6 separate regions of the Homo sapiens genome follow, and all the other regions are linked to region 4. The links are contacts of gene promoters, found by promoter capture Hi-C in blood cells and fetal thymus (Javierre and others, 2016). All regions are on one chromosome and are shown on one strand. The core of a region is centred on a gene start or on the middle of the fragment in contact, and the rest is flanking DNA. Distances in the headings are between cores, read along the strand shown.

Region 1 (4,785 bases), core at 1,148-3,647, 250 kb after region 4:
TTCACAATTCTGTGAGTACACCAAGAAGCACTGAATTGTATACCTTAAGTAAGTGAACGGTATGATATGTGGATTACAGCTCAATAAAGCTGCCATTTAAAAAAAAAGAAAAAAAAGTGAGGCTGGGCGTGGTAGCTCAAGCCTGAAATCCCAGCACTTTGGGAGGCCAAGGTGAGCAGATTGCTTGAGCCCAGGAGTTCAACACCAGCCTGGGCAACATGGTGAAACCCCATCTCTACAGAAAAAAAAAAAAAAATTAGCCAGGTGTGTTTATACCTGCAGTCCCAGCTACTCAGGAGGCTGAGGCAGGAGAATCACTTGACACTGGGAGGTTGAGGCTGCAGTGAGCCAAGATCAAGCTACTATACTTCAGCGGAGGCAACAGAGTGAGACCTTGTCTCAGAAGGGAGGAAGGAAGGGTTGGGGGGAGGGAGAGAGGGAGGGAGGGAAGGAGATAGAGAAAGAAAGAAAAGAGAGGGAGGAAGGAAGGAAGAAAAGAAGGAAGGAAGGGAGGGAGGGACAGAGAGAGAAAGAGAGAGAGAAAGAAAGGGAAGGAAAGAAAGGAAGGAAGGAAAGAAAAGGAAAGGAAAGGAAGGAAGGAAAGAAGGAAGGAAGGAGGAAGGAAGGAAATAAGTGAGGCCAAGCGCAGTGGTGTATGCCTGTAATCCCAGCACTTTGGGAAGCCGAGGTGGGAAGATCACTTAAGCCTTCGAATTTGAGACCAGCCTGGGCAACATGGCGAAACCCCATCTCTACAAAACATATAAAAATTAGCCGAGCATAGCATGCATCTGTAGCTACTTGAGAGGCTGAGGTGGGAGGATGGCTTAGCCTGGGAGGTTGAGGGTGCAGTAAGCCATGATCGCGCCACTGCTCTCCAGCCTGAGTGACAGATCAAGATCCTGTCTCAAAGAAGAAGAAAGGAGAAGGAGAAGGAGGATGAAGAGAAGGCAGAGGAGCAGGAGGAGGAGGAGCAGGAGAAGGAGGATGAGGAGAAGGCGGAGAAGCAGGAGCAGGAGGAGGAGGATGAAGAGGAGGAAGAGGAGAAGGAGGATGAAGAGGAGAAGTAGGATGAGGAGAAGGCGGAGGAGCAGGAGCAGGAGGAGGATGAAGAGGAGAAGTAGGATGAGGAGAAGGCGGAGGAGCAGGAGCAGGAGGAGGATGAGGAGGAGGAAGAGAAAGAGGATGAGGAGAAGGAGGAAGAGGAGGAGGATGAGTAGGAAGAGGAGGAGAAGGAGGAGGAGGATGAAGAGGAGGAGGAGAAGGAGGATGACGAGGAGGAGGAGAAGGAGGATGACAAGGAGGAGGACAAGGAGGAGAAGGAGGAGGAGAAGGAGGAGAATAGTGAAAGCTACAGAAACTAAGAACTCCTAGAGAAAGAAGGTCAGATGCAGAGAGGACAGCAAGCTCCCTACTGATAGAGAAAACCATCATGGTATTTCACAGTTCTCCTGCAGAATCCTGGTAAGAAGGGAGAGCGGTGGGTCAGAAAGCTTCCCCCACATCTGCCATCTTGAATCACCTCCAGCCAGGCCACAGGCAGGTTCCTGGGCTCAGCCCCAGCCTCTCTGGGGGGATCTTGGGATCTGTCCTTCAACAGAGCTCTCAGTGGGGGGGCTCCACAGGGGCTGAGAGCACAGACTCAGGTACAAGAGGATCTGGGATCAAATCTCGGCTCTACCATTTACCAACCACATGATCTGAGGCAAGTGACTGAATGACTCCATTATTTCACCTGCAAAATGAGAATAATTATAGGCCCTATTGCACTGGGTTGTTGGAATTAAACGAACTGATTTCCGGACGGGTGCGGTGGCTCATGCTTGTAATCCCAGCACTTTGGGAGGCCGAGGCGGGCAGATCACGAGGTCAGGAGATCGAGACCATCCTGGCTAACACGGGGAAACCCCAGCTCTACTAAAAATACAAAAAAATTAGCCGGGCGTGGTGGCGGGCACCTGTAGTCCCAGCTACTCAGGAGGCTGAGGCAGGAGAATGGTGTGAACCCGGGAGGAGGAGCTTGCAGTGAGCCGAGATCATGCCACTGCACTCCAGCCTGGGCGACAGAGTAAGACTCCATCTCAAAAAAAAAAAAAAAAAACCAACTGATTTTCAAAAGAATTGAGCACAGTAGTTGCTCATTGTACGTGTTTCATAACATCAGCTGTTATCAAGGTCGTCATCATCATCACATGTGCAGATGAGAAATTGCTAGGGAAGGACACCATTACTGATCCTGACCTCAGACACTGGGGCCTTCTATCAACCTTTCTCAGTGGTCCAAATGTTTATCTTAGTTTTTCCCTTCTCTCTTGATACATATTTTGTTCTTTTTTTTATTTTTTGACGTTTATTTTTAGTTCAGAGGTACATGTGCAGGTTTGTTAGGTAGGTAAATTTGTGTCATGGGGGTTTGTTGTACAGATTATTCCATCACCCAGGTATTTAGCCTAGTACCCACTAGTTATTTTTCCTGGTCCTCTCCCTCGCCCTACCCTCTGTCCTCCAATAGGCCCCAATGTGTGTTGTTTCACTCTGTGTGTCCATGTGTTCTCATCATTTAGTTCTTACTTATAAGTGAGAACATGGGGTATTTGGTTTTCTGTTCCTGTTAGTTTGTTATGGATAATGGCCTCCAGCTCCAACCATGTCACTGCAAAGGAAATGATCTCGTTCTTTTTTATGGCTACAGATAAATATTTTGTATCCTCTCTACATTGTCTTAAAAAACTATATATAGGCCAGGCATGGTGGCTCATGCCTGTAATCCCAGCATTTTGGGAGGCTGAGGAGGACAGATCACAAAGTCAGGAGATGGGGAGCATCCTGGCCAACATGGTGAAACCCCGTCTCTACTAAAAATACAAAAAAATTAGCTGGGCGTGGTGGCAGGTGACTGTAATCCCAGCTACTTGAGAGGCTGAGGCAGGAGAATCGCTTGAACTCAGGAGGCGGAGGTTGCAGTGAGATGAGATCGCGGCACCGCACTCCTGCCTGGCGACAGAGCAAGACTCCGCCTCAAAAACAACAACAAAAAAAGAAGTTTGATAAATATTCTATTTCATTTGCTTAGGCCTGACTTTTAAAATACCTTAACGGCAACCATAGCATAGTGATTAAAAGCAGGGGCCTTGGGACCACGAACAAAATAGGTGAAAAATCCCTCAATCAACTGATTCCGCTTGCTACAGAGGGATGGAAGTATGTGTAGCATGAAGAAAATCAATTTCTGGTGATGGCCTCCTTGATGGCAGAACCAAATCTTGAGCCAAGTCTTGAGCTTGGCACCTGGGAAGCTTCCTCAGTATCTCAGTCCCTGATGGGACGTGTGATATAGTTTGGATGTTTGTCCCTTCCAAATCTCACATTGAAATGTAATCCCTGGGCCAGGCATGGTGGCTCATGCCTGTAATCCCAGTACTTTGGGAGGCTGAGGCGGGCGGATCACAAGGTCAGGAGTTCAAGACCAGCCTGGCCAATGTGATGAAACCCTGTCACTACTAAAAGTACAAAAGTTAGCCAGGTGTGGTGGTGGGCTCCTGTAGTCCCAGCTATTCGGGAGGCTGAGGCAGGAGAATCGCTTGAACCCAGGAGGCGGAGATCACACCACTGCACTCCAGCCTGGTCGACAGAGCGAGACCCCATTTCAAAAAAGAAAGAAAGAAATGTAATCCCTGGCTGGGCCCGGTGGCTCACACCTGTAATCCCAGCACTTTGGGAGGCCAAAGTGCGCGGATCACTTGAGGTCAGGAGGTTGACACCAGCCTGGCCAACATGGTGAAATCCCGACTCTACTTTAAAGATACAAAAATTAGCTGGGCGTAGTGGCATGCACTTCTACTCCCACCTACTTGGGAGGCTGAGGCAGGCTGATCAGGAACCCAGGAAACAGAGGCTGCAGTGAGCCAAGATTGTACCACTGCACTCCAGCCTGGGCAACTGAGGGAGACTCCGTATCAAAAAAAAAGAAAAAAAGAACAAAGAAATGTAATCCCTAATGTTGGAGGTGGGGCCTGGGGGAAGTGTTTGGGTCCTGGTGGTGGGTCCTTCACAAATGGCTCAGCACCATCCCTTTGGAGACTTTTTGCTCAGTTAGTTCACATGAGATCTATGTGGCACCCCTACTCCTGCTTCTGCTCTCGCCATGTGATACACTGGCTCCTCCCTCACTTTCTGCCATGAGTGGAAGCTTCCTGAGGGCTCACCAGCCGCAGATGCCAGCACTATGCTTCCTGTACAACCTGCAGAACCATGAGCCAATGAAACCTCTTTTCTTTATAAATTACTCAGTCTCAGGTTTAGCAACTTTGTAGCAACTCAAGAGGGGACTAACACAACGTGGAACTGGCACATGTCCTGAACTGCCCAGGGTGTCCCCACCTCACACAGTGCTGGAGGCTCCACTCACCCGACAGGCCCTTCCCCATTAATGACACTATCCATGTCAAACTCTAGCTCCTCCCGTGTGGGCTCCTCTTCTGATTTCCTAGCAAGGGGGGAAGCACAGAGCAAGAAATGAGGGGAAGAGAAGGTGGAGAGGCATTCTCCAGCAAAACTCAAACTTCTTCACCCGGAGACATGGCAGAGGGACAGAGAGGTGGTCTCCTAAAGTCATCCCAAAGGGACCTTCCCCCAGAGCCATGGCCAGAAAGGCAGAGTAACTGCCACTAGAGATACCACAGGGAGGATCCCCCCCAAAACTCACCTCCCACAGCACTCCCTTAGTGGAGGGACAGAGAGTCCCATTCCTAGGGAAGGGACACAATGGGCCGATGAGGGAAGAAA
Region 2 (4,553 bases), core at 516-3,015, 150 kb after region 4:
TCAGCATTTTCATCTGATAGTGGTTCTTGGAGTCAGTTTGCTCACTTATGGACTCATTTATTAACTCACCCAACAAACATTTTCTTGAGACTTTGTGTCAGGAAAGCCTTGTGGTACTGGGATATGAATGACTTACATTGAGATACTCTTCTCAAAGAGCTCAGAGTCCAAAGAGAAAGACGTATATAAGCAGAAAATCCCAGTACCCGGTGGTAAGTCTATAGTAGAGGTAGCCAGGGAAACTCCGGGGGCATAGATGGTTAGTTAAGGAAGACTGGAGAGTTAGGGAAGGTGGCCTAGAGAAGAGGATGCTTGAGCAGAGCCTGGACAGATGAATAGGTGGAGATAGGGTGATGGGCACCCTAGACCAAAAGACCCCACTTGTATATTTATTGAGATTGAGAATATGTACTAAAGGAGACTGGATAGGTGGCTGAAATAAACTAGATAAGTTCACCAAGGGCCAAATGCCACTTTATTTTATCTGTGTTGTTCACTGCTGGATATCCAGCACTTAGAAGAGTTCCTGGCACATCATAGACATTCTCATATTTATGGGATGAATGAAAGAGACTTGGCCTTTCTCCTGAGGCCATTGGATACCCATGGAAAGTTCTTGAGCAGGAGAGGGGTGTTTGGAAAAGTTTCTTGGGTTAGGATAGAAGACAGACTGACTAGGGGGAAGATGAGAGAGGACAAGACTTGAGATGAAACAGGAGATTAGAGATACAATAGAATGTTTGAAAGATGCCAAGGTTGGGCTGGCCCTGCCTCCAAGGTGGTGAGGCCTAACTGGGCATCCCACACTCTGGTGGCCCTTCTCCAGGTTCCTTGCAGACCTGACGATCCTGTTGGGCCACCCCATCTCTCCCATCTTTGGTTGGCTGTGGCCCCATCTGTGTCCAGTTGTGCTGCTAATCATCTTTGTGACCATGATGGTTCATCTTTGTATGAAGCCGATCACCTACATGTCCTGGGACTCAAGCACCGTGAGCCTCCCCCAGGACCCAGAACCCCTTTGGGAGTAGGGGCCAGACCTTTCAATTCACTCTGGGTGAAAGAACCCAGTCATCTCATTCTCTTACTGCCCGAAGACTCATGGGTTTTCTGCTTTGGTTCCCCACCCATCCTTCCCCTCCACAACTCTTCCTTTTCTCTTGGGGATTTTGATATTCTGAACCCTTTTCCCATCTCTCCACAGTCAAAAGAGGTGCTTCGACCATACCCACCGTGGGCACTGCTCTTGATGATCACCCTTTTTGCCATTGTCATCCTCCCCATCCCTGCATACTTTGTATACTGCCGCATACATAGGATTCCCTTCAGGCCCAAGAGCGGAGACGGGCCTATGACAGCCTCCACATCCCTACCCCTAAGTCACCAGCTAACACCCAGTAAAGAGGTTCAAAAGGAAGAAATTCTACAAGTTGATGAAACAAAGTACCCATCAACTTGTAATGTGACTTCCTAACTTCATTAATTTGGCTTCACATAACATATCCCTTAGAACAGATCCAATAGACAACTCTTAATATCAGCTTGCAACTGTTGATCTCCCTGGATCCAGAACCACTTTTATTTCCAAGAGGAGGGGCATTCTTTGGGGGTGTTCATGGGGCCTGGACTTGCAATCCCTTCCTGGGTCCCATCTTACCTGGTGACCACCATCATTGTTTTCCCCATCCTCTTCCTCAACACACATACATGCACAACACATATACAATACTAGTGATGTCTACCAGTCCTGCTACTTCTGGGGTGCCTGTCTCCTGGAATGGAGCTGGAGGAGCAATGCTGTTGGTGAATAAATCAGTCTACTGGAACTCCAAGGACTGGATGTAAGCAGATCTTTTTTTCCTATAGATGTCTCAGATGTTCAGTTTTCCTGTCACAAGGCTTCCAGTCTGTATTAGTTCATTTTCACACTGCTAATAAAGACATACCTGAAACTGGGAACAAAAAGAGGTTTAACTGGACTTACAGTTCCACATGGTTGGGGAGGCCTCAATCATGGTGGGAGGTGAAAGGCATTTCTTACATGATGGCAGCAAGAGAAAAAAATGAGGAAGAAGCAAAAGTGGAAACCCCTGATAAACCCATTAGATCTCATGAGACTTATTCACTATCACGAGATTAGGATGGAAAAGACCAGCCCCCATGATTCAATTACCTCCCCTGGTTCCCTCCCATAACACGTGGGAATTCTGGGAGATATAATTGAAGTTTATATTTAAATGGAGACACAGTGAAACCATATCATTCTGCCCCTGGCCCCTCCAAATCTCATGTCCTCACATTTCAAAAGCAATCATGCCTTCCCAACAGTCCCCCAATGTCTCAACTCATTTCAGCATTAATCCAAAAGTCCAGAGTGTCATCTGAGACAAGGCAAGTCCCTTCCACCTATGAGCCTGTAAAATCAAAAACAAGCTAGTTACTTCCTAGATACAATGGGGGTACTGGTATCAGGTAAATACAGCCATTCCAAATGAGAGAAATTGGCCAAAACAAAGGGGTTACAGGGCCCATGCAAGTCCAAAATCTAGCAGGGGAGTCAAATTTTAAAGCTCCATAATGATCTCCTTTGACTCCAGATCTCACATCCAGGTCATGCTGATGCAAAAGGTGGGTTCCCATGGTCTTAGGCAGCTCCACCTCGTGGCTTTGCAGGGTACAGTCCCCCTTCCAGCTGCTTTCACGGGCTGGTGTTGAGTGTGGCTTTTCCAAGCTCAGGGTGCAAGCTGTCAGTGGTTCTACCATTCTGGGGTCTGGAGGACAGTGGCCCTCTTCTCACAGCTCCACTAGGCAGTGCCCCAGTAGGGACTCTGACTCTGTGTGAGGGCTCTGACCCCACGTTTCCCTTCTGCATTTCCCTCCCTGGCAGAGGTTCTGCATGAGGGCTCTGCCCCTACAGAAAACTTTTGCCTGGACATCCATGCATTTCCATATATCTTCTGAGATCTAGGCGGAGGTTCCCAAACCTCAATTCTTGACTTCTGTGCACCCGCAGGCTCAACATCACGTGGAAGCTGCCAAGGCTTGGGGCTTCTACTCTCTGAAGCCACAGCCCGAGCTGTACGTTGGCCCCTTTCAGCCATGGCTGGAGTGGCTGGGACACAGGGCACCAAGTCCCTAGGCTGCACACTGCATGGGGACCCTGGGCCTGGCCCACAAAACCACTTTTTCCTCCTGGGCCTCTGGGCCTGTGATGGGAGGGGCTGCCATGAATGTCTCTGATATGGCCTGGAGACATTTTCCCCATGGTCTAAGGGATTAACATTAGGCTCCTTGCTACTCATGCAAATTTCTGCAGCTGGCTTGAATTTCTCCTCAAAAATGGATTTTTCTTTTCCACTGCATCATCAGGCTGCAAATTTTCTGAACTTTTATGCTGTTTCCCTTTTAAAACGGAATGCTTTTAACAGCACGCAAGTCACCTTCTGAATACTTTGCTGCTTAGAAATTTCTTCTGCCAGATACACTAAATCATCTCTCTCAAGTTCAAAGTTCCACAAATCTCTAGGGCAGGGGCAAGATGCCACTAGTCACTTTGCTAAAACATAATAAAGAGTCATCTTTGCTCCAGTACCCAACAAGTTCCTCATCTCCATCTGAGACCACCTCAGCCTGGACCTTATTGTTCATATCAGCATTTTTGTCAAAACCATTCAGTAGGTCTTCAGGAGGTTCCAAACTTTCCCACATTTTCCTGTCTTCTTCTGAGCCCTCCAAACTGTTCCAACCTCTGCCTGTTACCCAGTTCCAAAGTTGCTTCCATATTGTTGGGTATCTTTTCAGCAACACCCCACTCTACTGGTACCAGTTTACTGTATTAGTTTTCATGCTGCTGATAAATACATACCTGAAACTGGGAACAAAAAGGTTTAATTGGACTTACAGTTCCACATGGCTGGGGAGGCCTCAGAATCCTGGCGGGAGGTGAAAGGCACTTCTTACATGGTGGTGGCAAGAGAGAAAATGAAGCAAAAGTGGAAATCCCTGATAGACCCATCAGATCTCATGAGATTTATTCATTATCATGAGACAGCATGGAAAAGACCAGCCCCCATGATTCAATTACCTCCCCCTGGGTTCCTCCCACAACACATGGGAATTCTGGAAGATACAACTGAAGTTGAGATTTAAATGGGGACACAGCCAAACCATATCACAGTCTTTCTAAAGCTAAATGTCCAGCCCTGAGTTCCTGCCCTCCCCTTGCTCTGGCAAACTCAGATACTAGATTACCAGGCTTGCATTATCCACGGGCTGGCCTTTAGCCAAGGGAAACCTGGGAAATGGTGACTTCAACAAAGATGGGGAAGATATTAATGTGCTTGCTACTGATACATGATAATCCTATTATAGGTCTAAAATTATTTCTAAAAAGAGGTTGCACTCAAGGTTTGAACATTGTGTTGTGGACTGAGTACATCTGTAAATCAGTGCCACAACCAGTTACTAACAAGCTGTTTCACTGAGCTCACCAAGAGTCCCATTTCTGCTCAGTACTGGGCACCACTGGTTTTTATCCCAGGGTCAAATCAACTGAA
Region 3 (4,257 bases), core at 581-3,080, 240 kb before region 4:
GTTTCCCACTCGGGCCTATTTCTCAATACCACTGAAAACTACCGCCAGACAACCCCAGCCCCAGAGGGCTTGAAACGCAAGACTGAAACCTCCCCCACATGGCTGCACGAGAACCAAACCTCACTCGAAACCATTTCAGGCACCCACTCTCAGGACCCCAGGGCTCAGGACCCTGCACAGGGCTTCAGGAAGAAGGAGGTCATCTCGCACCCTCACAAAGACCCGGGGGAGATAAACGGCTCCAGTAGGGTAAAGCTCTCAGCCTACATATTTCCCACAACTCCTTCCCAGCGGACATACCCTCCTCCCTCCGCCCGCCAGGAAGAAATCCGAGGGGAGGTGGGCTTCAGGACACGCCCCATGAAAAAGATGTCCCTCCCACACACCCAGAAATGGCCACAAGGGGGTGCACGGCGCCTATTAATGGGAAAATCTCTATCTAGATGCCCCACCACCACCCAGAGGGAGGTCACAGGGGCATGCCCCATCCCCCAACTCCTAAAGCCCTGGGCGAGGGGGAGAATTCTGGGAGGGGAAACGGGGTCGGCGGGGGACCCCATTCTTGGTTTTCCTCCAGTCCCTAACCCAGAACGCACAAAACCGGGTCCGATATCCCAACAGATGCCCCCGGAGCTCGGAAGGAGGTTGGTAAAGGGCTGAGAAGCACTGCTCCTCCCAAGAGACTCCCCACATCGTGGAGGGCCCCAGGTCGATCACACCCCACGGCGTGTGCCCAGGTCCCCGGGGAGGAGGGCTGGGGGCGTCAGGAGGGTCGGACCCCCTCCCCGCCCCCCTGGGCGCCCCTCCCCGGCCGGGGGCGGGGCCTTTGTCCCGCACGTGGAGCCCGCCGGGCCACTGGACTCGGCACACCCCCTCCCCACCCACCGCGCAGCGGCCACGTGGGGGCCTGGCCGGAAGCGCCCCCAGCCCTCCTCCACGTGGGAGGGGGGATAAGACCCTCCGCTAGGCCGGATGCCGAAGGCCCTTGGAAGCTAGGGAGCCGTCACCTCAAACGATATCCCCGGATGTGGAACGTGCGGCGCCCCCGTGTGCGGCGGGGGACCTCCAACCCCATATCGCCAACTTAGAGCCCTTTCCCCACCACAGAGGCGTGAAACACCGACCCAAAGCCGCCTCCCGCCCACGGCGGCGCTCCAAGCGCTCACCTCCATGATGCAGTTCGCGGCCTCGGCTGCCGCCATCTTCACCCGCACCTACTCCTCCTCCGGCCGCCAAGACCCCCCCTTTCTCCTCACTCCCCCGGGACCGCCTTATACCAGAGGGTCCACGGCCCGCCTACCGCGACCCCGCTGGAAGATTTCATTGGCAATGGAGGCGGCCCGTCTGAGAATACCGTCTAGTAATTGGCTAGAGAATACGTCCATCATAGGTCAGGGGTTTGCCAACTCTGGCGTCCAGAATCCCGCCCCCTCAAGTCGACCCGGGATGGGGAAAACTGCCCGTCTATTGCAAGAAGCGCGACTGGTGATTGGGCAAAATCCACCAGGAATGCCCTCCCCTTTACACCCAGCACCGCCTCAAAGCTTCCCGGGGAGCCCCGCGCTAAAGGGGCGTCTTGAAACACCTGTCCATCACCAAAACGACCCGCCTCCTAATCGCTGCCATTGGTTTATCCGGAAGCGACGTCACGCAGCCTTTGGCCCACCCTCGCCAAGCGGCCGGCCTCAAGGAGAACACGGCAATTGGCCCACGGGTAGGGAAGAAGGCGGGGCTTCAGGCACCAACGATTGGCTCAAAGGAATTATCACTCCTCGTCCACTCGGTGGATCCTCCCAACCCGGGGGGAGTCTGGAGGAAAAAGGGAGCTTGTGCTCATTACCTGGGGGAAAAACGGAATCGGTGAGAGGCCCAGAGAGAGGAAGGGCATAGCTGGGGTCCCGAAGCAAGTGAGGAATAGGAGTCCGTCGTCAACACATTAAATCCCTAGCCCTTGACATAATCATTCCAAGTTTTTTAAAACCATCAACCCCTCTCAAGCCACTTGGTTTTTGCCAAGTCCCTCCCCCTGCCAGGAACGCCCACCTCTCTTTGTCTGGTCAGCTTCTAAACGTGAATCAGAGCACAGCTTAGGCACCACTTCCTCCGGGAAGCTTTCCTTGATTTGCAGAAAAAGTTCCTAGTTGAATGAAGCTGAATGCAAAGGGCCGAATGCGTGGGTCCTGCCCCTCCTCTCCCCGATCCCTCTACTTCCCTCTGCTCACACTTCTCTCCAATCCCGGAATGAGCTCGCTCTTTGGTTTCTGGGCCTCCGCGCAGGCTATACTCTCTGGCGTGCCGCTGGCAAACGCCTGAGACTTAAAATTTACAATAGGGTTCGGGCGCGATGGCTCACGGGTGTAATTCCAGCACTTTAGGAGGCGGAGGCAGGCGGATCACTTGACATCAGGAGTTCGAGACCAGTCTGGGCAACATGGTGAAACCCCCATTTCTATTAAAAATACAAAAATTACGCCAGGCGGCCGGGCGCGGTGGCTCACGCCTGTAATCCCAGCATTTTGGGAGACCGAGGCGGGCGGATCACAAGGTCAGGAGGTCGAGACCATCCTGGCTAACATGGTGAAACCCCCGTCTCTACTAAAAATACAAAAAATTAGCCGGGCGTGGAGGCTTAGGCAGGAGGATGGCGTGAACCCGGGAGGCGGAGCTTGCAGTGAGCTGAGATCGCGCCACTGCACTCCAGCCTGGGTGACAGAGCGAGACTCTTGTCTCAAAAAAAAAAAAAAAAAAAATTTGGCCGGGCGCGGTGACTCACGCCTGTAATCCCAGCATTTTGGAAGGCTGAGGTGGGCGGATCACAAGCTCAGGAGTTCGAGACCAGCCTAGCCAATATGGTGAAACCCCCGTCTCTACTAAAAAAACAAAAATTAGCCGGGTGTGGTGGTGGGCGCCTGTAGTCCCAGCTGCTCCAGAGGCTGAGGCAGGAGAATCACGTGAACCCGGGAGGCAGAGGTTGCAGTGAGCTGAGATGGTGCCACTGCACTCCAGCCTAGGCGACACAGCGAGACTCCATCTCAAAAAATAATAAAATAAATAAAAATAAAAATAAAAAAATTAGCCAGGACTGGTGGCACACGCCTGTAATCCCAGCTACTTGGGAGGCTGAGGCAGGAGAATCGCTTGAGCTCAGGAGGTGGAGGTTGCAGTGAGCCAGGATGAAGCCATTGCACTCCAGCTCGAGCGACAGACCGAGACTCTAACTTTAAAAAAAAAAAAAAAAATTGAAAAGCATGGCACTAAACAAACCAAGAAAAGGACATTTGTTTCCAGTGTTTGAGCTGAAGCAAGAGGAGCCCAGCTGCAAATATGCACATCAGGTCTTTAGCTTGTTGCAGCTCTGTGCATAAGCATTGCCCTCCAAAACACCACAAAAGCACTGCCTTAATTTTTGGGGTATGAATACATTGTAGCAAGGATGCAAATTTGCAAATAATCTACAAATACTGAGGATCAACTGTAATTGGTTCGGTTTGTAATCCTGTACATTTCACTTATTAATTTACAAACATTACTCTGTGAAGGGGGATATGGCCCTATAAAGGAGACAAACCGCCCAGGCACAGTGACTCATGCCTGTGATCCCAGGACTTTGGGATGCCAAGGTAGGAGGATCACTTGAGCCCAGGAGGTGGAGACCAGCCTGGGCAACATAAGGGAGACCCCATTTCTACAATTTTTTTTTTTTTGAGACGGAGTCTCGCTCTGTTGCCCAGGCTGGAGTGCAGTGGCGTGATCTCAACTCACTGCAACCTCTTGCCTCCCGGGTTCAAGCGAGTCTCGTGCCTCAGCCACCCAAGTAGCTGGGATTACAGGCACCCACCACCATGCCCGGCTAATTTTTGTATTTTTAGTAGAGATGGGGTTTCACCATGTTGGCCTGGCTGGTCTTGAACTCCTGACCTCAAGTGATCCACCTGCCTTGGCCTCCCATAAAAATTCTTTTTTAAAAATTAGCTAGGCGTCGTGTCGCATGCCTTTAGTTCCAGCTACTAGAGAGGCTGAAGTGGGAGGATCACTTGAGCCCAGGAGGTTGAGGCTGCAGTGAGCCATGATAGTGCCACTGTATCTATATAACAGTGCAAGTATAGGCAACAGAGCAAGACCCTATCTCCAAAAAAAAAGGGAGAGTGGGGGGTGTGTGTGAGACAAACCACTGGTCTGTAGGTAGATGAGAAACCAGCAAGAGAGACTTGAAAGGAGCAATGGGAGGAGAAAAACAAGAAGAGGGTGGTGTCCTAG
Region 4 (4,924 bases), core at 300-2,799:
GATTCCGGGGGTGGGAGCAGGACTGGGAGGGCAGGGACAGATCCCAGAGGCGGAGGCGGTGGGCGGGGGACAGATCCCATGGGGCAGGGGCAAGACTGGGAGGGCGGGGACAGATCTCAGGGGCGGAGGCCAGAGCTCGGTGGGCGGGGTCAGATTCCGGGGGCGGAGGCAGGACTGGGAGGTCGAGGACAGATCCCAGTGGCGAGGGTCAGAAGTCGGAGGGCGGGGACAGATCCCATGGGGCCGGGGCAAGACTGGGAGGGTAGGGAGAGATCCAGGGGGCGGGGAGAACTGGGTGGGCGGGGACAGATCCCATGGGGCAGGGGTAGAACACAGAGGGCGGGGACAGATCCCAGGGACGGAGGCCAGAACTCGGTGGGTGGGGACAGATTCCAGGGGGCAGAGATAGATCCTGTGGGGAAGGGGTAGAACTCAGATGGCAGGAACAGATTCCAGGGGGCAAGGACAGAACTGAGAGGGCGGGAACAGAGCCAGGGACAGATCCTAGGAGAAGGGGACACAACTCCAACGGTGGGGAGAGAACTCAGAGGGCGGGGGCAGAACTCAGGTCAGCGACAGATCCTAGGGGAGGAGACAAATTCAGAGGGCGGGTGAGGATGCCAGGGGGTGCGGATCACAATTTAGGGGGCGGGACAGATCTCAGGGGGTGGAGACAGAACTCAAATAGAGGAATGGATCCCCCGGAGCTAGGGAAGAACTCAGAGCGCGGACAGATCCCAGAGGAGCAGAGAAATAACACAATGGGGAGACTATGGGGTCGCAGCTGGCACTGGCGGGGTGTGTGAAATATAACTGTGGGGGGCGGAAGCCAGAGGGAAGAAAATCGGGGTTAGGGAATGAAACTCAGGGAGAGAAGCAACAGGGAGGAGAGAGACGCCGGAGGGAGAATAGAGCTGGAGGAGTATGGGATTCAAAGGGGAAAGATGGAAACTAAGGAGGAGATGGAGCTCAAGGGTGAAGAACCCGGGTGGCGAAAGGGACTAGAGGGGGACGACAGGTGGATCGAAGTAGGCGTTGGACTTGAGGGGAAAGAATTTCCCTTGAATGAGAAAACAAAGAACTCCCTGGATGAGACTATTGGAACTGGGGACGAGGTGGGATGGGGATGGAATTGCGGGGTGGGGGCGGGGAGGAGTGAAGGAACTGGAGGATGAACGCAGAGGGAAAGTCAGAGAAGACAGGATTGTAAGGGACGCAATTAGGGGGAACAGAAGTCGGGGAGAGAAATGATGGGGATGAGAACTCAGGAGAGGAGAGAAAATCTGGGTAGGAGCCAGGGGTGATGGAACAGGGATAGGGGGAGTAGCCTGGGGAAGGAACAGAATTGGGGGGCGTGAACTCGGAGGCGTGAGTTCAGAACCCACAGGCGTGGTCTTGGAAGGCTCAGGAGGGGACAGGACGAGGATGAAAGGGCTGCGAGAGGGGGCGGGTCTGACAGACGAGGGGAGGGGCCTGGTGGGGCCGGGGCGGGGCCTCCCGCGCCCCGCCCCCGGCGCTGAGTCCTGTGACAGCCCCCGGGCCGCCTGCACTTGCAGCCTCCTTCCCCCCGAGCGGAGCTGCGGGGCCGGCCGGGCCGGGGCTGGACCCCGGGAACCCGGACGCGGCCGCCCGGGCCCGCGGGCGGGGGGATCGGCGGGGGGGACCCGCGGGGTGACCGGCGGCAGGAGCCGCCACCATGGAGTTCCGCCAGGAGGAGTTTCGGAAGCTAGCGGGTCGTGCTCTCGGGAAGCTGCACCGGTGAGCCTGGCGGGGGTCCCGGGAGAAGAGTGGGAGGATCTGAGGAGGATGCTAATTCCCACCTGGGCGCAGACTGACAGATGAACGGGCGATACCCCGGCATGGGGGTCCACCCATCTGTCCAGTTTTCTGCCGTGGGCTCCGACGGCGCTGTTCTCCCTGGTCGAGCCTTGTCCATTATCCTGTTCCTTTTTCTGCACCCCACCCCACCCGGCTCCACTCTCTCTGGTGCTGTAAATGCCTCTCTCCCGGGTCTCTGGCTCCTCCCCCACCACTTCTGGGTCTCTGTCCCCGTCTCTTTCTGGATGTCTCTGCCCCTTTTCTCTCTGGGTCTCCGTCTCCCTCTTTTTCCAGATCTCGGCTCCCTTCTCTCTGGGCCCCTCCTTCTCCCTAGATCTCTGCCTCCGCTTCTTTGCGTCTCTGTGCCCCTCTCTCTGGTTCTCTGGCCATTGCTCTCACTGGATCTCTATCAACTCCTGACTCAGAGTCTCTGTCCCCCTCTTTCTGGGTCTCTCCTCTTCCCTGGATCTCTGGTCCCCACTTCTCTGGGTCCCTGTCCCCGTCTCTGTGTTTTAATTCTCCCACCATGGGTCTCTCCGTCTCTCTGTGTCTTTTTCCGTTTCTGTCTGGCATGGAGTTTAATCTGCAGCTAAAGCGGATTGGGGCTCATAGCCCGTTGTCCTTGAGGGGGTGAGGCTGGGTGGAAGAAGTCACAGCACCCTGGGTCCCTGGGAGAGAAAGGAGTTAGAGGCCAAAAATTTCGGCTCCTGGGGTAGGACAGCCTTCCCAAAGGATACAGGCTGGGGCTGACAGGGACTCCCTCCCAACCAGGTTGATGACCCCAGTGAACCGAGTGTCCCTCAGGATAATCTGGACACCTCCCCACAGGCTCTCACCCCCAACCCCAGCTTTGGCTCTAAGTCAGATAAATTACTCAGCTGCGGAAAAGCCTAAAAATATATCTGGCCACAGTGCACGAAGGAGATGGCCTCATCAGCACCATGCCCCTGCCGCCGTGCCCTCAGGCCCTGTCCCCTTGGCCCACAGCCCTGACCCTGTGTTTCGCTGAGCTTCAGTCCACCTCGCTAGGCCATGGGGGTCCTTTGCTAAGTCTAACATCAGTCTTGCTTGCTGCAGATCACCTCTTAGCTCCAAAGTTACCCCACCCTCTAGTAACATGAGAGACAAGAATAAGGCTGGACAGAAGTGGGGGGAGGTGGGCAGGAGGATGGTGCAGTGACGGAGGTTGGTGGTGGAGGGGAAGCTGAGATAACCTCACCCCTTCTTTTTCCAATTTTCCAGCCCCTCCCCACCCTTTTTCTCGCCTCCTTTCACGAGTTTCTCAAAATACATCAGTGTGAAGTCAGGAGAATGAGAGAGAGAGAAAGAGACGTGCTGGTGGAGGGGGCTGGGGGGTGGCAGCGGGAGGGATGTATTCCTCAGGCCCCTCCCTCAGTCTCTGCCTCTGTTTCTCATCTGTGCTAGGGTTTCTCACAGTCAATCTCTCTGGCTCTCACTCTCTGAGTTACCTCTTGGGTCCCCAGAGACCCCCGGGCTCTGGCCAGGACCATCAGCAGGGAGTTTGTGCAGAGAAAAGCATTTGCTTCCAATGCCTGGGGTTTGCTCTGATGGTTGGAGGGAGAGGGGAATACCCCATATTAGAGACAACAGGTTGATCTCATTTAATCCTCTAGACAAAGATGGGGAAACTGAGGCTCCATTCTGGGGTTGGGGAGATCAGTGGATGAGTATGAGCCCCATGATTTGAACCCAGGTCAGTCTCCCTCCCAAGCCTAGAACAGAGCTCTTCCTTGAGAAGAGTGATGCCACAGCTGGTGGGGAGCTTCCTTGCACCCAGGGTGACTTGGAACAAGGACATGGGGGAATGGGATGCCAGAGAGATGAGAACCCAAGGTGCCTCCTTTCTGAGAGCCAGGTCTTGGGCAGGGGGATGCCGAGGGCCAGTAAGGGATCAGGTCCCATTGCTGTTCTTGTCTGTGACCTTGGAGTGCCACTTCAGCTCCCCGAGCCTCAGTTTCCTTAGTTGTACAATGGGAAGAGAAGAGAGAGCAGAGGGACATAAGGAGACAAAGACGTGGGGGAGTGGACAGAGATCCTGAGAGAAGCAGAGAGAGAGAGAGGGAGAGACAGAGAAGTTGAGACATCTCAATTTGGGGTAATGGCCTCCTAAGTGTTGTTTTTCCTCATCGCCAAGTCCCCAGGCCTGAGTTTGGGGTATCCAGGGAGGGGAGGGGGATTTACATCTAGGGTCTCCCTTCTCTGTCCTTGTCCCCTGCAAAGCATCAGGGCCACCTTCATCTCTGTGTCCTTGGTCCTCTTGCTCTAAAATGATTGATATCACCTTGAAGTTCCCTCTTTATTCTCTTGCATTTTTGCCCTTGTCCCATTTTATAGATGTGGGATACTGAGACCCCCTGTTTAGACAGCCTTGATTAGAGATCTGACATCTCCTCATATTAACAAGGAATCTCACATCAGGGGCTGCAATCACATCTTGAGTTTCAGGGTCAAATATCATCCGATGTCAACCTGGGTCAGTCTAATCTCTTTGGGTGATGGGTTCTGATGGGTGGGGGGAGTTACTGCCATCCTGTACTATTCGTCCTAGTGGCTTCAATCCCCCCTATCTCTGGCTCTCTGTCTTCTTCCTCTTGGGGTCTCATTCCTACTCCTTCTGGGTTCTGTCCACTCCCTGGCTTCTCCCACCCCTGTTTCTTAACTGCCCCTCCCCACCTCCTTAAGTTCTAGGATGGGGAGGGGTTGCTGTGTTCTCACAGCTCTTCCACCTCCCTCCCCCTGGACCGTCTGGCTGTTCCTTCCTCCCCCGTCCCAGTCTCCCTCGCCTCCATCTGTTCCAGCCCCTTCCTGGGATCCAGCCCGATCCCCTGGCTGCCTACCCACCTCAGAGAGGGGCTGCACCTCACAAATCACGTCCCCAGCCTGTCTATCCTCCGTCTCCCAGGCTCTCCATCTTTCTCTTGCATTCTGGATCTCTGTTCTCATCTCTCTGCATCTATGTTCTATCTCCTGGGTTTCTGTCCCCGCCTCTCTTTGGGACTCTGTCTGCTTCCTTCTCTAGGTTTCCATCTCTTCCCTCTCTGGGTCTCTGTCCCCCTATTTCTAGGTCTCTCTCCCCCTCTCTCTG
Region 5 (4,832 bases), core at 1,480-3,979, 200 kb after region 4:
ACCACTGTGGGGTGCTGAGCCCGGCGCAGTGCACCCATGGAGTCCTAGCTACTCAGGCTGAGGTTTGAGTCTGAGGCTGTAGCCCATGAGGACCATGCCTATGAATCGCCACTGCACTCCAGCCTGGGCAACAGAGTGAGACCTCATCTCTCTACAAATAAAACAAGGCCAGGCACAGTATCATCCCAGCACTTTGGGAGACCGAGCCAGGCGGATCACCTGAGGTCAGGAGTTCAAGACCAGTCTGGCCAACAGGGTGAAACCCCATCTCTACTAAAAAAAATTTAAAAATTTGCCAGATGTGGTGGTGCATGCCTGTAGTCCCAGCTACTTGGGAGGCTGAGGCAGGAGAATTGCTTGAACCTGGGAGGTGGAGGTTGTGGTGAACCAAGATCACCCCACTACACTCCAGCCTGGGCAACAGAGTGAGACTCTAAATAAATAAAAATAAGAAAATAGAGGGTAACGTGCCCAGAACCGAACCTGGCATGTAGGTCCTCTCTAGCTCACCGTCATGCTTGGTCCTTACTCGGGGTCGAGTTCCTTGCCCACTCGGCACTGGGAGGTGGGTCACCTGCTTTCCCTGGGCCACGGCCCAAGAAGCCTCAGAGAACTTGGACCTTACTGTGTTGTCAGTGGGAGGGGGTGACATCACCTGCGTCTTTGAACGTCAAACGGGGTTAAGGCAGCTCGGGGCAGGGGAGGCATCTTCTAGAAGCCATACTGCTCAGTGACTTCCTGGGCAAAGACCCCTTCATCCCCACAAAGTTCATGGCCTTGGAAAAAAAAAAAAAATCAATGCCAGCTTCCTGGTTCCCGACCAATTCCCAAATCTCCACCTGCCCCTCACACCTTTTTATTTACCTTAGAAGTCTCTAAACGTTTGTCACACTCCCCTATTAGATAACAACTTTCTGAAAAAACATCGCAAACAAACATCGAAAATTTACGTTGTGATCTACTGTCATTCTACACACGGTATCAGTGAAGCTTATTTTGCTTATTTTTGTTTAAAAAATAGAAGCAGAAGTCGTCAATTTTTCTTCCTGCATCCCCAACGTAACCAATTCTACAGCCCAATTTAGAGAGCCCTGAGAGCTCAGAGGCAAAGGCCCACCACCCCCTGGGCCCCTTCCTCCTCCTCCCTCGCTCTCCAGGGACTTTGGGTCTGGGATGTCCCAGCCTGGGGAACGGCTGTGTGGAATAGGGGTGGGGCTAAACTCTAGCAGGGAGAGAAGAGGCTGGGACCCCCTCCCCACCCTCACCCCCACCCCTTTTGTCTCCTCTCAGAGCCAGGACAGACCACCAGCCACCAGGAACTGCAAATCACCTGGGCTGTGGTGGAAGGAAGGTAAAATCCAACGTGGGAGATGCTTCCTAAGTCACTTGAGCTCCGGCTCCAGTGGAAAAAAAAAAAAGAAAACAAAAAAGAAAAACAGACTAGGCCAGGCGCAGTGCCTCACATCTGTAATCCCAGCACTTTGGGAGGCAGAGGCAGGCGGATCACCTGAGGTCTTTTTTGTGTGAGATTAGGGTGGTGACACGTATGGGCACTGAGAACACTGTTCCAAGTGCTACAGGAAGCCCCAGTGCCCTTCTTAATACTTCACAGGGGGCTGGGCACGGTGGCTCACGCCCGTAATCCCAGCACTTTGGGAGGCCGAGGTGGGGGGATCACCCGAGGTCAGGACTTTGAGACTAGCCTGGCCAATGTGGTGAAACCGCATCTCTGCTAAAAATACACAAATTAGCCGGGTGTGGTCGTGGGTGCCAGTAATCCCAGCTACTCAGGAGGCTGAGGCAGGAGAATTGCTTGAACTCAGGAGGCAGAGGTTGCAGTGAGCTGAGATCACACCATTGCACTCCAGCCTGGGTGACAAGAGCAAGAGACTGTCTCAAAAAAAAGAAAAAGAAAAAAGAAAAACAGACTAGGCCAGGCGCAGTGCCTCACATCTGTAATCCCAGCACTTTGGGAGGCAGAGGCAGGCGGATTACTTGAGGTCAGGAGTTCGAGACCAGCCTGGCCAACATGGCAAAATCTCATCTCTACAGAAAATACAATAATTAGACGGGCCTGGTGGCGCATGCCTGTCATCCCAGCTACTCAGGAGGCTGAGGCACGAGGGTCACTTGAACCCAGGAGGCAGATGTTCTGGTGAGCTGAGATCACGCCACTGCACTCCAGCCTGGGTGACAGAGCAAGACTCCAACTCAAAAAAAAAAAAAAAAGCATATTGGAATAATTGGGAAAAACGAATAAGGTCTGTAGATAATAGAAGTAGATCGATGTTACTTTCATGATTTCAATGGCACTGTGGTTACACAGGTGAATGTCCCCGTTCTGGAAATACGCACTGCAGTATTTAGGAGTAAAGGGGCATCATGTCTACAGCTTACTCTCAAATGGGTCTGCTACATAATAGGTATTGTTATAATAAATGTGAAAGGCGGTGATGATAAAGGAAACACGGTAAGATATCACAATCAAGGACTCGAGGTGAAGGGTGACTAAGCTCTTATAGGGCACTCTTCATTTTATTGCACTTAGCTTTATTGTGCTTCACAGATACTGCATTTTTTTTTTTTTAACAAATCAAAGGTTTGTGGCAACCCTGCATTGAGCAAGTCTATCAGCACCATTTTTTTCTAACGGCATGCGCTCACTGTGTGTCTCTGGGCTGCATTTTGGTAATTCTCACAATAAAATTTTAAATCTTTTCATTATTATTATTTTTTTTGAGACAGAGTCTCACCCTGTGCCCTGGCTGCAGGGCAATTTTGTGATCTTGGCTCACTGCAACCTCCGCCTCTGGGTTCAAACGATTCTCCTGTCTCAGCCTCCCGAGTAGCTGGGATTTCAGGTGCCCACCACCATGCTCTGCTAATTTTTGTATTTTTAGTACAGACGGGGTTTCACCATGTTGGCCAGGCTGGTCTCGAACTCCTGACATTGTGATCCACCTGCCTTGGCCTCCCAAAGTGCTGAGATTACAGGCGTGAACCACCGCACCGGCCTCATTATTATTCTTCCATCTGTGATGGTGATCTGTGATCAGTGGCCTTTGATGTTTCTATTGTCACTGGGGCCACCACAAACTATGCCCATATAAAATGGCAAACTTAATAAATGTTGCGTGTGTTCTGACTTCTCCACCCACCGGCCATTCCCCCATCTCTTTCTCTCCTTGGGCCTACCTATTCCCTGAGACACACAATATTGACATTAGGTCAGTTAATAACCCTACAATGGCCTCGCAGTGTTCAAGTGAAAGGAAGAGTCACACATCTCTCACTTTAAATCAAAAGCTAGAAATGATTATGAGGAAGGCTCATCAAAAGATAAGACAGGCCAAAAGCTAGGCTTCTTGCACCAGTTAGCTAAGTTGTGAATGCAAAGGAAAAGTTGAAAGATATCAAAAGTACTACTCCAGTGAACACAAAACTAAGGAGTGGCCGCATGCAGTGGCTCACACCTGTAATCTCAGTGCTTTGGGAGGCTGAGACGGGTGGATCACTTGAGGACAAGAGTTCAAGACCAGCCTGACCAACATGGTGAAACCCCATCTCTACGAAAAATACAAAAATTAGCTGGTGTGGTAGCGCACACTTGTAGTCCCAGCTACTCAGGAGGCTGAGGAAGGAGAATTGCTTGAACCTGGGAGGTGGAGGTTGCAGCGAGCTGAGATTGTGTGCTACTGCACTCCAGCCTGGGCAACAGAGCGAGACTCTGTCTCAATCAATCAATAAAAAATAAGAAGTCAAACAGCCTTATTACCGATATGGAGAAAGTGTTGTCTGGACAGAAGGTAAAACCCTTAAGCCAAAGCCTAATCCAGAGCAAAGCCTTAACACTTTTCAGTTCTATGAGGGCTGAGAGGAGGAAGCTGCAGAAGAAAAGCCTGAAGCCAGGAGAGGTTGGTTCATGAGGTTTAAGGAAAGTAGCCATCTCCGTAAAGAAAAGTGCAAGGTGGCTGGGCACGGTGGCTCATGCCTGTAATCCCAGCCCTTTGGGAGGCTGAGGCGAGAGGATCACCTGAGATCAGGAGTTCGAGGCCAGACTGGCCAACGTTGCAAAACCCTGTCTCTATTAAAATTACAAAAAGAAAAAAAATTAGGCATGGGTGGTGGCGGGAACCTGTAATCCCAGCTACTCAGGAGGCTGAGGCAGGAGAATCACTTGAACCCGGGAGGCAGAGGTTTCAGTGAGCCAAGATCGCACCATTGCACTCCAACCTGGGCAACAAAAGTGAGACTCCATCTCAAAAAAAAAAAAGGTGCAAGGTGAAGCACCAAGTCCTGATGGAGAAGCTGCAGCAAGTTATCCAGGAGATCTAGCTAAGATCATTGATGAAGGTGGTTGCACTAAACAACAGATTTTCAATGGAGACAAAAGGCCTTCTACTGGAAGAAGATGCCATGTAGGACTTTCATAGCTATAGAGAAATCAATGACTGGCTTCAAAGCTTCAAAGGACAGGTGGGCTTTCTTGTTAGAGGCGAATGCAGCTGGTGACTTTAAGTTAAAGGCAATGCTCGGCCGGACGCGATGGCTCATGCCTGTAATCCTAGCACTTTGGAAGGCCAAAGTGGGCAGATCACTTGAGGTCAGGAGTTTGAGACCAGCCTGGCCAACATGGTGAAACCCTGTGTCTACTAAAAATACAAAAATTAGCCGAGTGGTACACACCCGTAATCCCAGCTACTCAGGAGGCTGAGGCAAGAGGATTGCTTGAACTCAGGAGGCAGAGGTTGCAGTGAGCCAAGATTGAGCCACTGCACCCCAGCCTGGGTGACAGAGCAAGACTCTGTCTCAAATAAATAAATAAATAAATA
Region 6 (4,361 bases), core at 494-2,993, 130 kb before region 4:
TATTAAATGAGCAAGACTGGGCGCGGTAGCTCATGCCTGTAATCCCAGCACTTTGGGAGGCCGAGGTAGTAGATCACCTGAGGTCAGGAGTTCAAGACCCAGCCTGGCCAACATGGTGAAACCCCGTCTCTACTAAAAATACAAAAAAAGTATCTAGGCATGGTGGTGTGTGCTTGTAATCCCAGCTACTTGGGAGGCTGAGGCAGGAGAATCACTTGAACCTGGGAGGTGGAGGTTGCAGTGAGTCAAGATCGTGCCACTGCACTCCAGTCCGGGTGACAGAGTGAGACTCCGTCTCCAAAAAAAAAAAAAAAAAAATACTTCAGTCCTGGTGACAGTGAGACTGTCTCCAAAATAAATACATACATACATACATACATACATAAAATAAAATAAATGGGCAGAACGTGGGGAGGTTGTCATGAGGACCGAATGTGTTCACATGTGGAAAGTGCTTCCCACAAGGTCTGATTCTTAAGGGGTTGAAGGATGTGATGATTACTTCTGTTCTTCCAGTGCTTCTGTGATTCACATGTTACTAATGAATTATTAGTGTATTAATGGCATGATGTCATGGCTGCATGGTTAGTTCATTGCTAACCCACCTCCCCTGGCCCTAGGATTGGAGGTGGTTCATTGATTCTATCATGACATCTCTGAGACCTCCCAGGTGCCAGGCAATGCTGGGACCCAGGCTGAAGTTCAACCCAGGCCCCACCAACCAGGGCCCCTACTCTGGAGCCGAAATACCGAGGGACGGGCTGTAACGGAGGTAGCTCAGGGCACGGTCAAGTGCAAGGAGAACCTAACTGATCCCGGAGAGGCAGGCTTCTTGGAGGAGGCAAACCTTGGCAGTGCTCTGGAGGAGAAAGGAGACAGGATTTCAGGGGAGGACAAGACACACACTAGCTGTCTGATCCACTCCCAGAGTTCAGCACAGTGCCTGAGGCCGCCTGCAGCCAGCTGGCACAGTGGATGGTCAAAGCCACAGGTGCTTGGATCAAACACAGCTGTAGGACTCACTAGCTGCATAACCTAGGGCACCGCCTCTGTGCCTCTCTTCATTTATAGCAACTATTTGAGGTGCTGTGATATTCAGTGGAGTGTTGTGATATTCGACCGTTTGAGGTGTTATGATATTCAGTAAAATGCTTAGAGCCAGGGTCTGCTTCAGAGCCGGGCTTTTTTTTTTTTTTTTTTTTTGAGACACAGTCTTGATCTGTTGGCCAGGCTGGAGTGCAGTGGCCCGATCTTGGCTCACTGCAACCTCTGCCCCCAGGTTCAAGCGATTCTCCTGCCTCAGCCTCCCGAGTAGCTGGGACTACAGGCACCTGCCACCACACCCAGCCAATTTTTGCATTTTTAGTAGAGACAGGGTTTCGCCACATTGGCCAGGCTGGTCTTGAACTCCTGACCTCAGGTGATCTGCCCGCCTTGGGCTCCCAAAGTGCTGGGATTACAGGCGTGAGCCACTGCTCCCAGCCATATATATATATATATTTTAAAGTATCTCCAATGAAAATTTAGCATCTGATGGCCAGGCCAATGTGGTGAAACCCCATCTGTGCTAAAAATACAAATATAAAAATACAAAAATGAGCTGGGCATGGTGGCACACGCCTGGAATTCCAGTTACTTGGGAGGCTGAGGCAGGAGAATGGCTTGAGCCCTGGAGGTGGAGGTTGCAGTGAGCCAAGATTGCACTATTTTGCACTCCAGACTGGGCAACAGAGCGAGACTCTGTCTCAAAAAAAAAAAAAAAAAAAAAAGGCTGGGTGCAGTGACTCATGCTTGTAATCCTAGCACTTTGGGAGGCTGAGGCGGGTGGATCACCTGAGGTCAGGAGTTCGAGACCAGCCTGCCCAACATGGCGAAACCCCATCTCTACTAAAAATACAAAAAATTAGCCAGGCATGGTGGCGGGTGCCTGTAATCCCAGCTACCTGGAAGGCTGAGGCAGGAGAATCACTTGAATCGGGGAGGTGAAGGTTGCAGTGAGCCGAGATCACACCACTGCACTCCACCCTAGGTGATAAAAGCGAAACTCCATCTCAAAAAAAAAAGAAAAAAAAAAGAAAATTTAGCATCTGAATTACTGAAATTACTGAGATGTGCTGAAAGAGTAAAATACATTCTGGATTTCAAAGGCTACAAATAAAGGAATGGATTGGCTTTTTTTTTTTTTTTTTTTTGAGACAGAGTCTCACTCTGTCGCCAGGCTGAAGTGCAGTGGTGCGATCTGGGCTCACTGCAACCTCCACCTCCTGGGTTCAAGCGATTCTTCTGCCTCAGCCTCCCGAGCAGCTGGGACCACAGGCGCGCACCAACACACCCAGCTAATTTTTGTATTTTTAGTAGAGATGGGGTTTCACCATGTTGGCCTGGATGGTCTCAACATCTTGACCTTGTGATCCACCCGTCTCAGCCTCCCAGAGTGCTGGCATTACAGGTTTAAGCCACCGTGGCCAGCCTGATTGGCCTTTTTTCTGAGATTGTGACTTTCCTAGGAAAACTGACAGTTGTCACCTAGTTAAAAGGAATGGCTCCAGAGCCTGGCTGCCTGGGTCTGAGTCCCAGCTCTGCCATTTCCCAGCTGGGACATGCTGTGAGCCTGTTTCCTGTGCTGTGAGGTAGGGATTATGCTGACATCGGTCGCTCCTGCTCTTTGCCTGTTTCCTCTCTGAAATGCTGGTGACAGCAGATGGCAGCAGTCTGCTTTGTAGTTTGAAATTGGACCTACCAAAGAGACAATATAGTGTGGGGCAGGAGAGCTCAGCTTTCAGAGTTTGTAAATCCTGAAACTGGCTATTCTTCCACCCTTGGTTGGAGGCGCTCACGCTTTCTGGTCTCAGGATCTTAAAAATCACTGAGTTTTAAAAATCAAAGAGTTTGCCGGGTGCAGTGGTTCATGCCCGTAATCCTTGCACTTTGGGAGGCTGAGGTGGGCGGATCACTTGAGATCAGGAGTTCAGAACTAGCCTGGCCAACATGGTGAAACCCTGTCTCTACTAAAAAATACAAAAAAAAAAAAAAAAAAATTAGCTGGGCGTGGGCGCCTGTTATCTCAGCTACTTGGGAGTCTGAGGCAGGAGAATTGCTTGAACCCAGGAGGTGGAGGTTGCAGTGAGCCGAGATCACACCACTGCACTCCAGCTTCGGCAACAGAGCAAGACTCCATCTCAAAAAAAACAAATTAAATTAAAAAAAGTTTAAATGCTCCCTCTATAGGTGTTCCTCCTATTTTTGGAGGGAAAATGTCCCCATCTATGTAGAAACCTCAGTTCTTGGCCACAAAACAGCAAGCAAGCTCATCTCTGGGAAAGCCGAGGTGCCCAGAGCCAAATACTGCAGAGGGTCAAGGGAGTTGACAACTAAGAATAGAGTGGGGAATGTGTCCATGAAAAGGTCACCGTGACCTTCATGAGTGGCAGTTGTGGGGGCTGGGGAGCGGATGGCAGGTGAGGGGAGGCAACAGGTGTTGGACGTTCACTGAGAAGCTTGGGGGTCAGGGGGAAGTCGGAGGAGGAGCCTGGCATGTGGAGGGGACCCTGGGTCAAGTTGGGGTGTTTGATCAAGGTCGCCCTTCTGCAAGCAGCCCTGGCTGCCTCAGGGGGCACATTGATCGGGAAGGGGCGTGAGGGGGTATTTAGCGTGATAGGAAGGTTCTGTATCTCCATAGGGTCGTGGTCACAAGGGTGTATACATTTGTCAGATCGCATCCAACTGTAAAGGTCTTTGCTTTGATTCTGTGTAAATATACCTAAAACCCAAAGAGTGGCTTCTGAGAAGACGCCAGTAGGGGGAGAGAGAGCTCCATAGCTCCCAGAGGTTTGTGTTTCAAGTTTTGAATGGGAAAGGCAAGTTTTTCAAAGCAACCAGAAGGGGGCGATAGAGATGAAGTTGCTTTTTACATCGGTGGGACCCTTGGTTGTGCTCCCCACCCCAACTTCTGGATCCTACTTGCAGGCTACTTGAGAGCAGGAGACAATCTTTCCTGAATGCAACTAATATGTGTCATGTGGAGCCTTTTGTCTGCAAGAGTTCTTTATATTTTATTCTTTCTTTATTTTTTGAGATGAGTGTCTGTCACCCAGGCTGGAGTGCATTGGCACAGTCTCGGCTCACTGCAACCTCCGCCTCCTGGGTTCAAGCGATTCTTGTGCCTCAGCCTCCCAAGTAGCTGGGATTACAGGTGGCCACCACGACTGGCTCATTTTTGTATTTTTGGTAGAGACAGGGTTTTACCATGTTGACCAGGCTGGTCTTGAACTCCTGACCTCAGGTGATCTGCTCACCTCAGGCATGAGCCACCTCGCCCCACCTGCAAGTGTTCTTTTTTGTTGTTGTTGTTGTTGTTTTTG

Evidence for each region. Contacts are between HindIII fragments. The CHiCAGO score rates a contact against its expected background, and 5 or more counts as called.
Region 1: a fragment that was not itself captured here is called in contact with the fragment with the promoter of SLC17A7 in region 4 in 1 of 17 cell types (naive B cells); the score reaches 5.8 in naive B cells.
Region 2: a fragment that was not itself captured here is called in contact with the fragment with the promoter of SLC17A7 in region 4 in 3 of 17 cell types (naive B cells, total B cells and endothelial precursors); the score reaches 13.6 in naive B cells.
Region 3: a fragment that was not itself captured here is called in contact with the fragment with the promoter of SLC17A7 in region 4 in 7 of 17 cell types (naive CD8 T cells, naive CD4 T cells, total CD8 T cells and 4 more); the score reaches 11.1 in naive CD8 T cells.
Region 5: a fragment that was not itself captured here is called in contact with the fragment with the promoter of SLC17A7 in region 4 in 3 of 17 cell types (total B cells, naive B cells and endothelial precursors); the score reaches 9.1 in total B cells.
Region 6: a fragment that was not itself captured here is called in contact with the fragment with the promoter of SLC17A7 in region 4 in 4 of 17 cell types (naive CD8 T cells, total CD8 T cells, naive B cells and 1 more); the score reaches 6.8 in naive CD8 T cells.

Annotation. Positions count from the first base shown.
Region 1 is chr19:49,190,397-49,195,181 of GRCh38, reverse strand. It overlaps TRPM4 (transient receptor potential cation channel subfamily M member 4), which reads right to left. Exons shown (of 25, transcript NM_017636.4): 16 at 4,409-4,486. Among named protein-coding and RNA genes, the nearest start is that of TRPM4, 35 kb to the right of the region's middle. The HindIII fragment of the contact is 1,803 bases long and covers 1,496-3,298 here.
Region 2 is chr19:49,287,041-49,291,593 of GRCh38, reverse strand. SLC6A16 (solute carrier family 6 member 16) reads left to right here. Exons shown (of 12, transcript NM_014037.3): 11 at 827-989; 12 at 1,202-1,956. The coding sequence ends at 1,471. Among named protein-coding and RNA genes, the nearest start is that of MIR4324, 20 kb to the left of the region's middle. The HindIII fragment of the contact is 6,288 bases long and covers 1-4,553 here.
Region 3 is chr19:49,674,226-49,678,482 of GRCh38, reverse strand. It overlaps PRMT1 (protein arginine methyltransferase 1), which reads right to left and starts at 1,212. Exons shown (of 11, transcript NM_001536.6): 1 at 1,167-1,212. The coding sequence starts at 1,202. RefSeq lists a silencer at 718-997 and enhancers at 842-1,573, 1,578-1,727. The HindIII fragment of the contact is 567 bases long and covers 1,547-2,113 here.
Region 4 is chr19:49,438,152-49,443,075 of GRCh38, reverse strand. It overlaps SLC17A7 (solute carrier family 17 member 7), which reads left to right and starts at 1,549. Exons shown (of 12, transcript NM_020309.4): 1 at 1,549-1,758. The coding sequence starts at 1,697. The HindIII fragment of the contact is 19,375 bases long and covers 1-4,924 here.
Region 5 is chr19:49,239,669-49,244,500 of GRCh38, reverse strand. All of the region lies in intron 2 of LOC107985340 (a long non-coding RNA gene), which reads right to left. Among named protein-coding and RNA genes, the nearest start is that of MIR4324, 67 kb to the left of the region's middle. The HindIII fragment of the contact is 3,473 bases long and covers 993-4,465 here.
Region 6 is chr19:49,569,815-49,574,175 of GRCh38, reverse strand. The region is part of intron 1 of NOSIP (nitric oxide synthase interacting protein); the gene reads left to right. Among named protein-coding and RNA genes, the nearest start is that of NOSIP, 8.6 kb to the left of the region's middle. The HindIII fragment of the contact is 3,513 bases long and covers 1-3,499 here.